4 separate regions of the Homo sapiens genome follow, and all the other regions are linked to region 1. The links are contacts of gene promoters, found by promoter capture Hi-C in blood cells and fetal thymus (Javierre and others, 2016). All regions are on one chromosome and are shown on one strand. Each heading gives the region's core, a stretch centred on a gene start or on the middle of the fragment in contact. The rest is flanking DNA. Distances are from core to core; before and after follow the strand shown. Region 1 holds the start of DPH6 (diphthamine biosynthesis 6). Region 2 has its middle 5.9 kb from the start of FSIP1. Region 3 has its middle 6.4 kb from the start of LINC02694. Region 4 overlaps LOC105370775 (a long non-coding RNA gene).

Region 1 (2,981 bases), core at 139-2,638:
GTAACTGACTCTACCAATCTTCTCTCCTCCCCTCCAATACTTCTAAGTCTTTGTTTGTTGTGCTTTACTTTAATCGTTAAACTTTTGGCAAGCGATGTAAATTTGAATTATTCACTTCCTGGGGTACTTTTAATTCTTAAAATAAGACACAATGGTTAAAGCTTAATCATTTATGTTACAGAGGACATTTACTGAACAACAATAATTATTGTGACATTATGGTCTAGTCTCCTAAAAATGACATTGAAGGAAAGGGAACCGGAATATTCCAGACACTACAGTAGGTCTGAAATCTCATATCAAGTCCTTAATAGGTCAAAACTTACAGCCAGTATCAATTACCTAAGGGACTTAACGAAAACGTTTATGAAATCTTCAATTGGATTACAAAAGCAAGCACATCGTTGCACTGTATCTAAGACACTCTACAGGGCAAAATCTCATGAAACAAGTATTTAAGTAGTCTAACTTTTTAATGTTGCTAGTGTGTTCCCTTCTGCCTCAGTTTATAGATTGAGTATGGAAATATTTAAGCAGGTTTGTTTTTGGTTTGTCAGTCACAGGACTTATTTAGACACTTAAATTTATGATTTGGTTACTACAGACATCAAACTCCTTTTGGAATACGGAGTATAGGGTAAGGTCACTCTAAAGCAATGATGAGAGTCCGAAGCAACAGCAACTGGATCTAGCATAAGACTAGTACAATTCGGTCTCTACCACGAAGAGAGATCTCTGTACTTGAGTGCCCAAAGGCAGAAACACACACATGCCATAAGCAATCCACATCTGTGAAGATGAGGGAGGGGTGGACTTCTTGGGATGGGCGGAAACACTTACAACTAGGGAGGAAGCCAGGCTGCGGCGGACCCAGCTGACCAAAGGAACTACAGAAGAGGACGAAGAAAGCGAGGGGGAAAGGGCGAGGGTTATTAACTGAGTTGATGGAATAAGGTAGTGGCTCCAAACTTCACGGCTCATTAGAGCTTGAAAAAAAAAAATCAGACGCCGGGTCGCACAGAAGTAATTAAACCAATCCCTCTGGCGGTGGGGCCCAGGCGTCGGTACTTTTTTTAATTTCCCACTTGAATCCAATGGGAATCCAAGTTTAAGGGCTAGAAGACCAGAGAGCGACAGACAGGGAGGAGGCGCGCCAGCCAGGGGCCGAGGCACATGCGGGCCGGCAACAGCGAAGGCTCCGCCTCTTCCTGTGGCTCGGAGGAGCCGCGGAACCCCCAACGCGCGACTCAGACGGAGACACCCACTCTTTCGGCGCTAGCGGCGGCTGGAAGGGACGAGAGCCTGGCCTAGGAGGAAGGAGGCGGCTCCAGGACCGCATTACCTGATCAGAGCCGCGACCCTCATGCTGGGCGCAGTGCGCGTGCGTGCGGCGAGCGCGGGCGGGAGCCAGGAGGTCGCGCCGCAGCTCGCGTGACGCACCGCGGGGCCTCGCCCGGGTGTTCGCTCCGCCGCCTGTCCGCGGATCGGCGCTGCGAGCCCCGCGGCTGCCTGCGGGACACCTGAGCGCGGAGGGTGCGGCACCTTGGCACCTTGACCCTGTGGCAGGGACATCTCGGCCCAGGAAAGAATGAGGTTTAGGCACGGCCTAACCACCTAAGTGAGGGCACTGAAGCTGCCGGGGGAAGGGCAAGGTCCGCGTTGCAGAGCCCAAGCCCAGTGGCGCAGGATTTGTTTTGGTAAGAGGGGATTTAGCGTCCCAATTGCTGCAAATTGACACAGTTGCGGACGTGCAAGCGCAGAAGAAATTTGTCCTTCCTCACCCCACAGAACAGAAACAACTGTACACTTCTGCTTTTTAACTTACATCTCCTCTGTCCTCCAAACCTGTGTGTCCAGATGTGAAACTCAGATCCCCAGGGGCTGTGGTAATTTTTAAATCTGGGGCTAGCCCCCCCCACCTCTAGGCCCTCTGTGGCTTTGGCTCTTGGTCAAGCTTGTGTATTTGACAAGGCCAGGCCAGGCTCTTCACCAAAGAGCAATGGCCTTGCAGAAAGAAAATCTAGCTTCTAAGTTTATTTGCCAAGTATGTATTGAGTGCCTTTCGTGTACCAGGCACTGTTTTAGACTCTGTGGATACAACCGTAAATAAAACAAAAACCCGGCATTCCGGGCATAGAGCTTAAATGGGGATGGAGAGAACAGACAATACATATCTTAAAGGTAAATAGTCTGTTGAAGAGTGAAAAGTGCTATTGGAAAGGGGCGGGGTGCGGTGGGGGAGAGTCAGGAGAGAGGTGGAGAGGCAAATTGCAGAATTAAATCGTGTCTATGTAGGCCTTATTGGTAAGATGAGAGTTGAGCCAATTTAAATAAGGAGAGTTCGCTATGTGTATGATTGGGGTGTGCTCCAGACAAGAAAAAAAAATCGAAGGCTCTAGGTGCGTTGTGTGTTTGTGGAAGATTAAGGCAGATCCGTGTTGCTGGAGCAGATTGAGCAAAGCAGAGAGTAGTGGAGAGCAGGTTAAGGTGATGGAGGGGAAGGATTATATAGGGTCTTGTAGGTAATTGCAGACTTTTGAAGGGTGTGACTTAAAATTTTAAAAGGATTGCAGTGTTGAGAATCCACCTATTAGGAAGCTGTTACAGTGTTCCAGTAGAGAGATGGCGGAGCCTAGAATCAACATGGTGAATTTGGTGAGAAGTAAGAGGATTCCAGCTCTATTTTGAAGATAGAGCCAATAGAATCAAATTCGATATGGGATACAAGAGAAAGAAAGTCATGAGGGATGATGCCAAAGGCATGAATTAAGTAAGTTAATATATGTAGGGAACTTAAAATTATGCCAGGTACATAGTAAGCATTCAATTTTATTTTGACATTCTCAACTCTAATAGTAGGGGTGACTAGAGCAGTGACAGTCTACATATCAGTTTTAGCGTCTAGAATCATACAGCTTTAAGATTTTGCAGTTATGAATATTTACCAAATGAGTCAAGTATTTAAGAAGTTTGCAGTCTAA
Region 2 (2,981 bases), core at 351-2,850, 4.2 Mb after region 1:
GCAACCTCCCACCTCAGCCTCATGAGTAGCTGGGACTACAGGCATGCAACACCATGCCCGGTTGAATTTTTTTTTTTTTTTTTGTAGAGGTGAGGTCTCCCTATGTTGCCCAGGCTTAATGCTATTATTATTGAAAGTAAAATACATGTTAAGTATATGTTTCATATGTGCTTAGTACCTTATTTTAGTACATTTTTTAGAACTTAAAAGCTGTGAAATAAACCCGATTCAAATGGGTTGTCAGATTTTGTTGTTGAGAAGGATCAGTTCAGGTGTTATTTAAAATATTGATTCTAGTCCCTATTACATGATTCAGTGGGTCTGGAATGCAGACCAGGAATCTGCATTTTTAACAAGTCCCTTGGTGCTTGTGGTACAGATGAACCACTGACTTCAAGTTAATGTTTTAGAGGGTAAATAGTGGTGAGGACATTGCTCCTGGAGGCACCATGGAGCCCCCTGCAGCTGTTCTACACGGAGGCTGTGAACAGTGACATCCAGCACTTCCTTTGTAAACAGCAGGCTAGAGACTGAAAAATGCTCTCCCTGTAGAACTCTTTCCCTCCTCTCCCTGTCTGCTGTGGAGTGCTGCACAGAATTAGCTGCTGGTCAGTGGATGTCTCCATTTTTTAAAAGATCAAGCTTACAACTTCTCAATGCCTATTGGTCCAAAAACAGTGATGACTTTAGGTTTGTTTTCAGTTAAAGAAGTTAGATCATGTATTGTCATATAACTATTCAACTGGCTCGAGCGATCCGAATGTCAACCTAGGGGGCCACAAACTTCCAGGACATTGTGAAATTGTGTAAAAATCAGTGCACACATACACACACACACACACACATAGCAGTGCAGCTACATGTTTCTGGCCTAGAGGGTTGTTTTTAAAGATAGTAAAGTAAATCAATGAAAACGAAGGTATGTTATAATATCCAGAGTCATTTGCAGGGGGAAGGTGTCATGTCAAGTGGGCCCTAAAGCAATCAGCTCTGCCAAGTGAGTCATTCTCACCAGAAAGGAGAAAAAAATCGGTTTCTCTTCTTTTCTAAGGAAATTCCCTCAAAGTAACAGACTGCTTAACTTTCTCATGATCTTACTGGCTACAAAGTTTGGTCACCCGCAGCAACTCTGTACCTGTAAAGATTTAAAGAGTTGGCAGAAACTTCCCAAGGCCAGCTGCAGTTTCAGTTGCTGGATGCCCACTGAGATTAGTGTCTCGCCCCTGTCAGCTGAATGGATGTGACACTGCTTGCGCATAATGGCTGAAATTGCACTGCAACTATCAATCCTGGGCTGAAACCAACAGATTCTGAACATTGCCCATGCATTGGGTTTCATGCTTCATGCTTTCAACCTACAGGTAAGCTTGTCTCTGAGTCCAAAACCTAACTTCAGTATTGAGCTTGGTCTCTCTGATCCCATAGGGGTTTGTTAGTTTGTTGTTTTAAATTGGATCTCCTGATCTGTGTACTTGGTTGAGGTAAGCAGGTCTATGCAAACCTACCCCCAAAGGCCAAGGAAGCTGAGAGGCCAATGAAAGAAGCTGACAAGTCCAGTTTCTCAGAAAGAAACATTCAATAAGGGCTTACAAACAGAAGCCATGTCTCTGGCGGCCAGAGAGACAGTGGATCCCCGCAACTGCCCTCCAGAAAGCATCTTTTATATAGCAAGATTTTAGGGAAAGATGTGCAGCCAGTCATGCCTCAGGCCTTCTTGCAAAACTCATGACCCCTGGGGTGGTTAGATAAGCATCTCTATGAGAGTTTATCTATGCTACAGGAACACATTGGTCATCTTGCTATGCAACAGGCCGTTTTCCTACAATACTAAAATGAAGCTTTAGTATATAGTTATGTAAGCCTTCATTATTATGTAAACCTTTGTACATATTTTAACAAAAAATAAAGGAAGCTAAAATAATTAAGATGCCATATTAGAAACATTCAAATCAAATATTTAGGGTGTTAAGCAGCAAGGTAAGGAAATGATTTTTCTCAGAGTTAACATCTCAGACATAAAGAAATAAGAAGTAAACCACCCCAGGGGTTTGTTCATCAGTCATGGGTCAGGCTGCCACAATGTTTAAGTCTCATCCTGGCATTCTTAGCTTCTCACTTTATTTCTTACACAATCTTTTTCTTAGCTGGAATCCAAAGTAATGTTTCTATCTGAACATACAGTGTTTATTACACTAGGAACTAGTCATCATTTTGAAGACTTGGTTTTCTTGTTTACATTTTTAAAATTTGATCATCCAAACTCCTTTCTTAATAGAAGCTGGCTTATTTTCCCCTTATTTTGCCATAATAGGCAAACTAAAATTAGTGCTTTAATTTTGTTCAAAATTTGTGATGTTTTATATTTTTGTAATTCATCACTGACACACATTTTAAAATACACATCTCTGGATTTTCTGTCCTGTCTTTGCCAAGAACAGTGTGGCCTGGGCCTAGTCTCTTAACCTCTTTCCACCTCAGTTTCTTTGTCTAGTAAATAAGAGGTAGATAAAGGTTTCTACCACTACTTCCAGCTCTGAGACCCTGTGATTTTCTGATTTAAGCAGTCTCTGCTCTCTTTGGAAATGACCTGCTTCTCAACCCAACATTCATAACAATGTAAAAGGCATCTGCTCAACGTGCATGGCAGCAAGAATTACTTGTTTAGAAACATCTGGGTAATGGTAACAACCATCTGTCTTGTCCCTGCAATTGTCGAACAAAGAATTAAGCAAGCAAAACCACAAGAGAAGTGCCCTATTTTTATAGAACGATGCAATAGAACAGAATTTGTTTAGGTTTTATGAGAGTTGCATATGTATCCCACCTCTGTTATGGAACGGCAAGCCTCTTCACCTCTGCAGACTTCAGTTTACCAGCCTATCTGTCAAACAATGGGAAGATAACTCTCTAGCACTGTTCCTTATTTTGTTGAAATAGAGAAATTAATATGTTCTTGAGACACTATACTGAATTTTTCATTG
Region 3 (2,981 bases), core at 184-2,683, 3.2 Mb after region 1:
ACAATTACACACAACACTCTGGATGTATTTCACAAATATTACATTAAGAAAAAGATGCCAGACTCAAGAGAATACACATTGTCCAATTCCACTTATATAAAACAAAAAAAGGGCCCCAAACAAGGTCTTGCTCTGTCACCCAGGGTGGAGTACAGTGGCATAATCACAGCTCACTGCAGCCTCAAATTCCCAGGCTGAAGGATCTTCCTACCTCAGCCTTCTGAGTAGCTGGGACTATAGGAGCATGCTATCACACCCACCTAATATTTAAAAAAAAACTTTTTGTACAGATGGGATCTCCCTGTATAGCCCAGGCTGGTCTCAAACTCCTGCACTCAAGTGATCCTCCTGCCTCAGCCTCCCAAAGTGCTGGGATTACAGGCATCAGTCACTGCGCCCAGTGTAAAAAATGGCCAAAATTAATTGTGGTAGATTGATTGTACTAGCAGCTCTAACTCTTCATCTCTTAAAATCCATGCCCTTTGCCATATGACTGCAGCTCCTTTCACTGAAGATGTGGAGTGTATTTCCCCAGCAGGGTCAGGACTATGGTGAGGCAATGAAGGCAACTGCCCCAGCCTTAAAATTAAGGAGGCACCAAAATCCTCAGTAATCAAGAAAAATAATATTGAATGCAATGTTTTTGAAAAATCAAAATTAATGCAAGAAAATCCATTGTGAACAAAATTTCGATAAAGACAGGAGCTGACCCTGCACTTGCATAACTCAATTTACTAGCCTCACTCTACTAGCCTCACTCTAATCCTGGCTCTGTCAGATCCTATCTTGAATAAAGAGGATGCCTGCATATTTCTGTTTGTTCTCTTATTCTCTGCTATCACCATGGCCATGCCTGGCTAGCCTGCTGGAGGCGAGCTGTCCCCCAACCCCCAAGGTGCAAGAGAAAGTCTGTGGGGGATCAGTCACAGTGGTGGGAAAAATTATAGGGAAAGGATGCAAACCTTCTGAAAGGTTGGAAGCTCCTGCAGAGCCCCAGGAGAGAATAGCTGAAAGCAGCTGTTCTATAACCCTGAGGCAGAGGGCAAGGAGTAAGTACAAAGGAGTGTAGGGGAATTTATCTTAAACAGGCTTGTTTACTTATGTTGACCAGGAACTGACCTTTGATCATCCACACACCTGACTTTCTCTGGAAGGAGAACAATAAATGTTAATTACCTACAGGTTGTGTTGGCTCCAGGTTTTTGGCATTGTGCCTGAGCTGAATAAAAGCAAGCAGCTCCAGCTTCTCCAGGCTGCTGTCTGGCCGTTAGAGCCAGCCAGTCACCTAGCTGCTTTTATACTGCATACCTGTGTCTGAGTACTCATTTCATCCATTGGCCAAGGCCTGTGGGACAGACCTGGCAAGAGCCCAGCCAAGATGAACCAACTTGCCTACACAACCACCCCCGTGAGTGAATGATAAAATATTGAAGTTTTGTGATTGTTTGTTCTGCAGCAAGAGCCAACCGATGCACTGAACTATGTAGTTAAGGGTCAGGATAGAGGTTGCTTTTGGGAGATGAGGCATGAAGTGGGTTCTGAGGTGCTGCTGAGTTCTGTTTCTTAACCTGGGTGCTAATTACACAGTTGTATTCAGTTTGTGAAAATTGACTTGTATGTTTATGACCTGTACAACTTTCTATATTTTTATATTTGAAAACATTTTAAAGGGTAGGTGACAAGGCTCTTACTATTTTTTTCAAGGACAACTTACTGGGATAAGATGTATAAAATAAAAGTTACAAGCACCAGAGACTGAAATCAAAATCCAGAATAAATTGAACTTGAACTAATATTCAGAAAAATCTATGAAAATACCTATTTTGGACTCTATCCACAATTATTTATGTGAAACCACTTAGAATTACTTAGACCATTATTTTTAAATTCTGTTAGGCATGACACAATCACAACATAAGAATATTCTCTGAACCAGTATTTCATTCGGTTTGGGTTTTTGCTGAATTCATCTTTACATGTGGCTTTGCATGGCCTCATTTCAATAAAAATGAGACCAATGTAAATTATTATGATGGCTATTTTTCGACCATATAATACTGCTAATGTCAGTAGGCTTTTCTTTTCTTTTTTTTTAATGGAGTCTCCCTCTGTCGCCCAGGCTGGAGTGCAATGGCAAGATCTCAGCTTACTGCAACCTCTGCCTCCCAGGTTCAAGCCATTCTCCTGCCTCAGCCTCCCGAGTAGCTGGGATTACAGGCGCCACCACCACGCCTGGCTAATTTTTGTATTTTTAGTAGAGACAGGATTTCACCATGTTGGCCAGGCTGGTTTTGAACTCCTGACCTCAGGTGATCCACCCGCCTTGGCCTCCCAAAGTGCTAGAATTACAGGCGTGAGCCACTTTGCCTGGCTGGCTTGGCTTTTCTATGCACAGAGATTAGATATAACTATCATTCAGCATCAATCCAGGAGCAACTTTATCCATCCATCCAGTCTGATTCAATCATTATCTCATACCTGATGGGAAGAAGCTGGCATCTAATCAGAACTGTGATTTCCTTGCTGTGGATTCCTTTTTCTAGCTGGCTAGAATTGACTCTGAAGTGGGTGGGAAGAGCCTGTTATCAATTTGATGTCAAAGAGAAAGTCGTTCTGTTTTAAGAATTGAGATAAAAAGGGGAAAATACATAGCTAAATAATGGCATTTGTGATGTCTTCCTCCATATCCCAAAAGAATAACTTCTAGTTGCTTTTCAGAAAGACAGGCAAACCTGTACGAGTTCTCTGGGGGAAAAAAAGAGTTCTATCTAGTACCAGATTTGTTCCCTGCCCAGGTGTTTCCTATGCACCTGGGCCTGGCAGTGCCATGCCCCACTTTCCACAGCAGATGAGGGCCAGGAATGGTGCCAAGGTCTTTAATTACAGGAACTCATCTAATCTTTGTAACCCCTCTATGGGGAGGCACTGTCATCCTCTTTTTACAAATGAGGACCCTGAAGTGCAGAGATGTTGAATCACTT
Region 4 (2,981 bases), core at 245-2,744, 3.1 Mb after region 1:
GGGATTACAGGTGTGAGCCACCGTGCCTGGCCATTTTTTATACATTCTTATATGCATGTATATATAATTCCTTTTAAAATAATGGTTTCAAACTGTACTTAATGTTTCATAATCGACTTTTCTCATGCATATATTATGAACATTTTTCATGACAGCGAATACAATCTATTTTGTCATTTTAGTAGCTGCAGAGAGAGGCTTACACATCCTATGAAAGGTTGTGTAATGTAAATTTAAGAGAGCTGACTCAGACCAGACCGCCTAGATGCAGATATTAGCTCTGCATTGACTAGCTTTATGACCTGGTTAGCGAACCTCTCTGTTCCTCAGTTCCATCATCTGTGAAATGCTGACAGTAATTGTAGTACCTATCTGTTGGGAGGCTTAGATGAGTTAATATATGCAAGGAGTTAAGAACAGAGCCAGGCGTTCTATAAGTGCTATGTAGGTGGTGTTAGTGCTTTCTATAAAACACCATCATTTAATTGACCAAAGTCCCTTCATTCTGATTTTTTTTTTGTTTTTTTTTTTTGGATAATGTTGTGATGGATTCTCTTCTTCTTTCTTCTTCTTCTTCTTCTTCTTCTTCTTCTTCTTCTTCTTCTTCTTCTTCTTCTTCTTCTTCTTCTTCTTATTCTTCCTCTTCCTCTTCTTCTTCTTCCTCTTCTTCCTCTTGTTTTGATGGATTCTCTTCTTCTTCTTCTTCTTCTTCTTTTTCTTCTTCTTCCTTCTTCCTTCTTCCTCTTCCTCTTCCTCTTCTTCTTTTTTTTTGAGACAGAGTCTCACTCTGTCACCCAGGCTGGAGTGCAGTGGTGCCATCTCGGCTCACTGCAAGCTCCGCCTCCTGGGTTCATGCCATTCTCCTGCCTCAGTCTCCTGAGTAGCTGGGACTGCGGGCGCCCGCCACCACGCCTGGCTAATTTTTTGTATTTTTAGTAGAGATGGGGTTTCACCGTGTTAGCCAGGATGGTCTCGTCTCCTGACCTCGTGATCCACCTGCCTCGGCCTCCCAAAGTGCTGGGATTACAGGTGTGAGCCAGCGCGCCCGGCCAATAGATACACTTCTTCTTGGGGTGGGTCAGGGACATTTGTTTGCCTATTCCCTCAGATACCTTCCTAGAATTAAGATTGCTGTGCTAAAAGGCAAGTGCATTAAAAAAAATTTTTTTTTGATATTTGTTGCCAGACAAGCCAATTACATCATTCGTTGAACCAATTTCCAGAAACAGCGCGATAGTATTTTCTCATACTATCGCCAACACAAGTATAATCATACGTATAAACACTTGTTAGTCTGCTAAGTGGAAAATGAGGTTTTAATTTACATTTATTACTAGAGGGGTTGAACTTTTCATAATTTTGTCCATTCTGTTTCTTTTTTCAAATGGCTACTTATGGCCTCTGCCTATTTTTCCAATGAGTGTTACTTTTTTTTAATATAAAATAACTATACATTAAGCGTACTTGTATTAGTCCGTTTTCACACTGCTAATAAAGACATACCCGATACTGGAAAGGAAAAGAGGTTTAATTGGACTTACAGTTCCATGTGGCTGGGGAGGCCTCAGAGTCATGGCAGGAGGTGAAAGGTACTTCTTATACTTCTTACATGGTGGCGGCAAGAGAAAAATGAGGAAGAAGCAAAAGCAGAAAACCCTGATAAGTCCATCAGATCTCGAGAGACTTATTCACTGTCATGAGAATATCATGGGAAAGATGAGCCCCCATGATTCGATTACCTCCCCCTAGGTCCCTCCCACAACATGTGGAAATTCTGGGAGATACAATTCAAGTTGAGATTTGGGTGGGGACACACCCAAACCATATCAGTATTCTATCACGTTTTGCAAATCTTACATATAAAGCTGACTCATGAAACTTTAATATTGAAGTTTGAGTTAGGCATTATAGCTAGGTTGGGTATGAAAGAGATTACTTTTAAGGGGACTAGTGAACCTTGGTGAAGGGTATGTGGAAGTTCTTTCTATGATTCTTCCATTTTTTTCTCTTGTTTGAAATTATATCAAAATAAGAAGCTCCAACAACCCCCCACTCCACACACACAGCAAATTGATTTATGGGGTAATTGGTGCCCCCACTAACCACACAGCTACCTACCTATTTTTTTTTTCCATTATGTTCGTGGCTGTTGTAATAGAGAGACCCCACGGCCATGTCTGTGGGCAGCCTGGGAAAAGTCTACAAGCTACCCCTACTGAGATCAGCTACATCAAGCTCTGCTCTCCCCTGGCCAGAACCTGGGTCTGCTGAAATAATCATACCCTTTTGGTCTGCTATCATGTGCTCAGTATGCTGCTTGAAACGCTTAAGACCCTGTAGGCCTTCCTAGCCTCTTTGGTTAGGAAGTCCCCTCCTTCTCACTGGTCCCAGGAGGATAGGGGGTGGCAATGCAGCTTGCTTCTGTTTCCTCCATCCCTCATCTGTCTGTGCTGCTTATGCAAAGGCCTACTCACTTAGAGGAGAAAGACTCCACTCTTAGTTCCATCTCTGCAGCTAGAAAGTTAGTCCTTAGGCAGACTGACATACCTGCAGAAACAACCCCCCAACTCTTTATGGCTTAATTCAATAAAAATTTGTGCTACCTATCCAACATGAGCTGTGGAGGATTGGGGTCAAGAAGCATGGGGTTAGTGATGATTCTATGATGGCTGTCCTCCACATACTTACCCAGGGATTCAGTCTAGCAGAGGCTCTGCCACCCATCATGTTACCAGCTACCACAGCAAAGGAAGAGACAAGCATAGAGAAATTATACTCACTTTTCTCTACCTTGGCTCTAAGGGGTCACATATGATTTTCACTCACATCTCATTGGCCTCAATGGTCACAAGGCCTTGCCTAACTGCAAGGTGGCTGGAGAATGCAGGGAGGGCCATAGAACATGTGTGAACCTTGCTGTCTCTGCCCGCTCCCAGGATTAGCCTCTGGACACTTCCTCTCAGCATTGTCATTCAAATATT

The links. The method cuts DNA at HindIII sites, captures the fragments that hold promoters and counts their contacts. A CHiCAGO score of 5 or more calls a contact.
Region 2: a contact is called between a fragment that was not itself captured here and the fragment with the promoter of DPH6 in region 1, in 1 of 17 cell types (activated CD4 T cells). The highest score is 5.1, in activated CD4 T cells.
Region 3: a contact is called between a fragment that was not itself captured here and the fragment with the promoter of DPH6 in region 1, in 3 of 17 cell types (activated CD4 T cells, total CD4 T cells and naive CD8 T cells). The highest score is 6.0, in activated CD4 T cells.
Region 4: a fragment that was not itself captured here is called in contact with the fragment with the promoter of DPH6 in region 1 in 2 of 17 cell types (total B cells and naive B cells); the score reaches 10.3 in total B cells.

The regions. Positions count from the first base shown.
Region 1 is chr15:35,544,777-35,547,757 of GRCh38, forward strand. DPH6 (diphthamine biosynthesis 6) reads right to left here and starts at 1,389. Exons shown (of 9, transcript NM_080650.4): 1 at 1,343-1,389. The coding sequence starts at 1,365. It overlaps DPH6-DT (DPH6 divergent transcript), which reads left to right and starts at 1,419. Exons shown (of 3, transcript NR_038251.1): 1 at 1,419-1,697. RefSeq lists an enhancer at 390-1,324 and silencers at 1,372-1,511, 1,812-1,861. The HindIII fragment of the contact is 1,793 bases long and covers 160-1,952 here.
Region 2 is chr15:39,787,254-39,790,234 of GRCh38, forward strand. No RefSeq gene overlaps it. Among named protein-coding and RNA genes, the nearest start is that of FSIP1, 5.9 kb to the left of the region's middle. The HindIII fragment of the contact is 472 bases long and covers 1,365-1,836 here.
Region 3 is chr15:38,701,517-38,704,497 of GRCh38, forward strand. No RefSeq gene overlaps it. Among named protein-coding and RNA genes, the nearest start is that of LINC02694, 6.4 kb to the left of the region's middle. The HindIII fragment of the contact is 6,394 bases long and covers 1-2,981 here.
Region 4 is chr15:38,680,694-38,683,674 of GRCh38, forward strand. All of the region lies in intron 1 of LOC105370775 (a long non-coding RNA gene), which reads left to right. Among named protein-coding and RNA genes, the nearest start is that of LINC02694, 14 kb to the right of the region's middle. The HindIII fragment of the contact is 4,614 bases long and covers 1-2,981 here.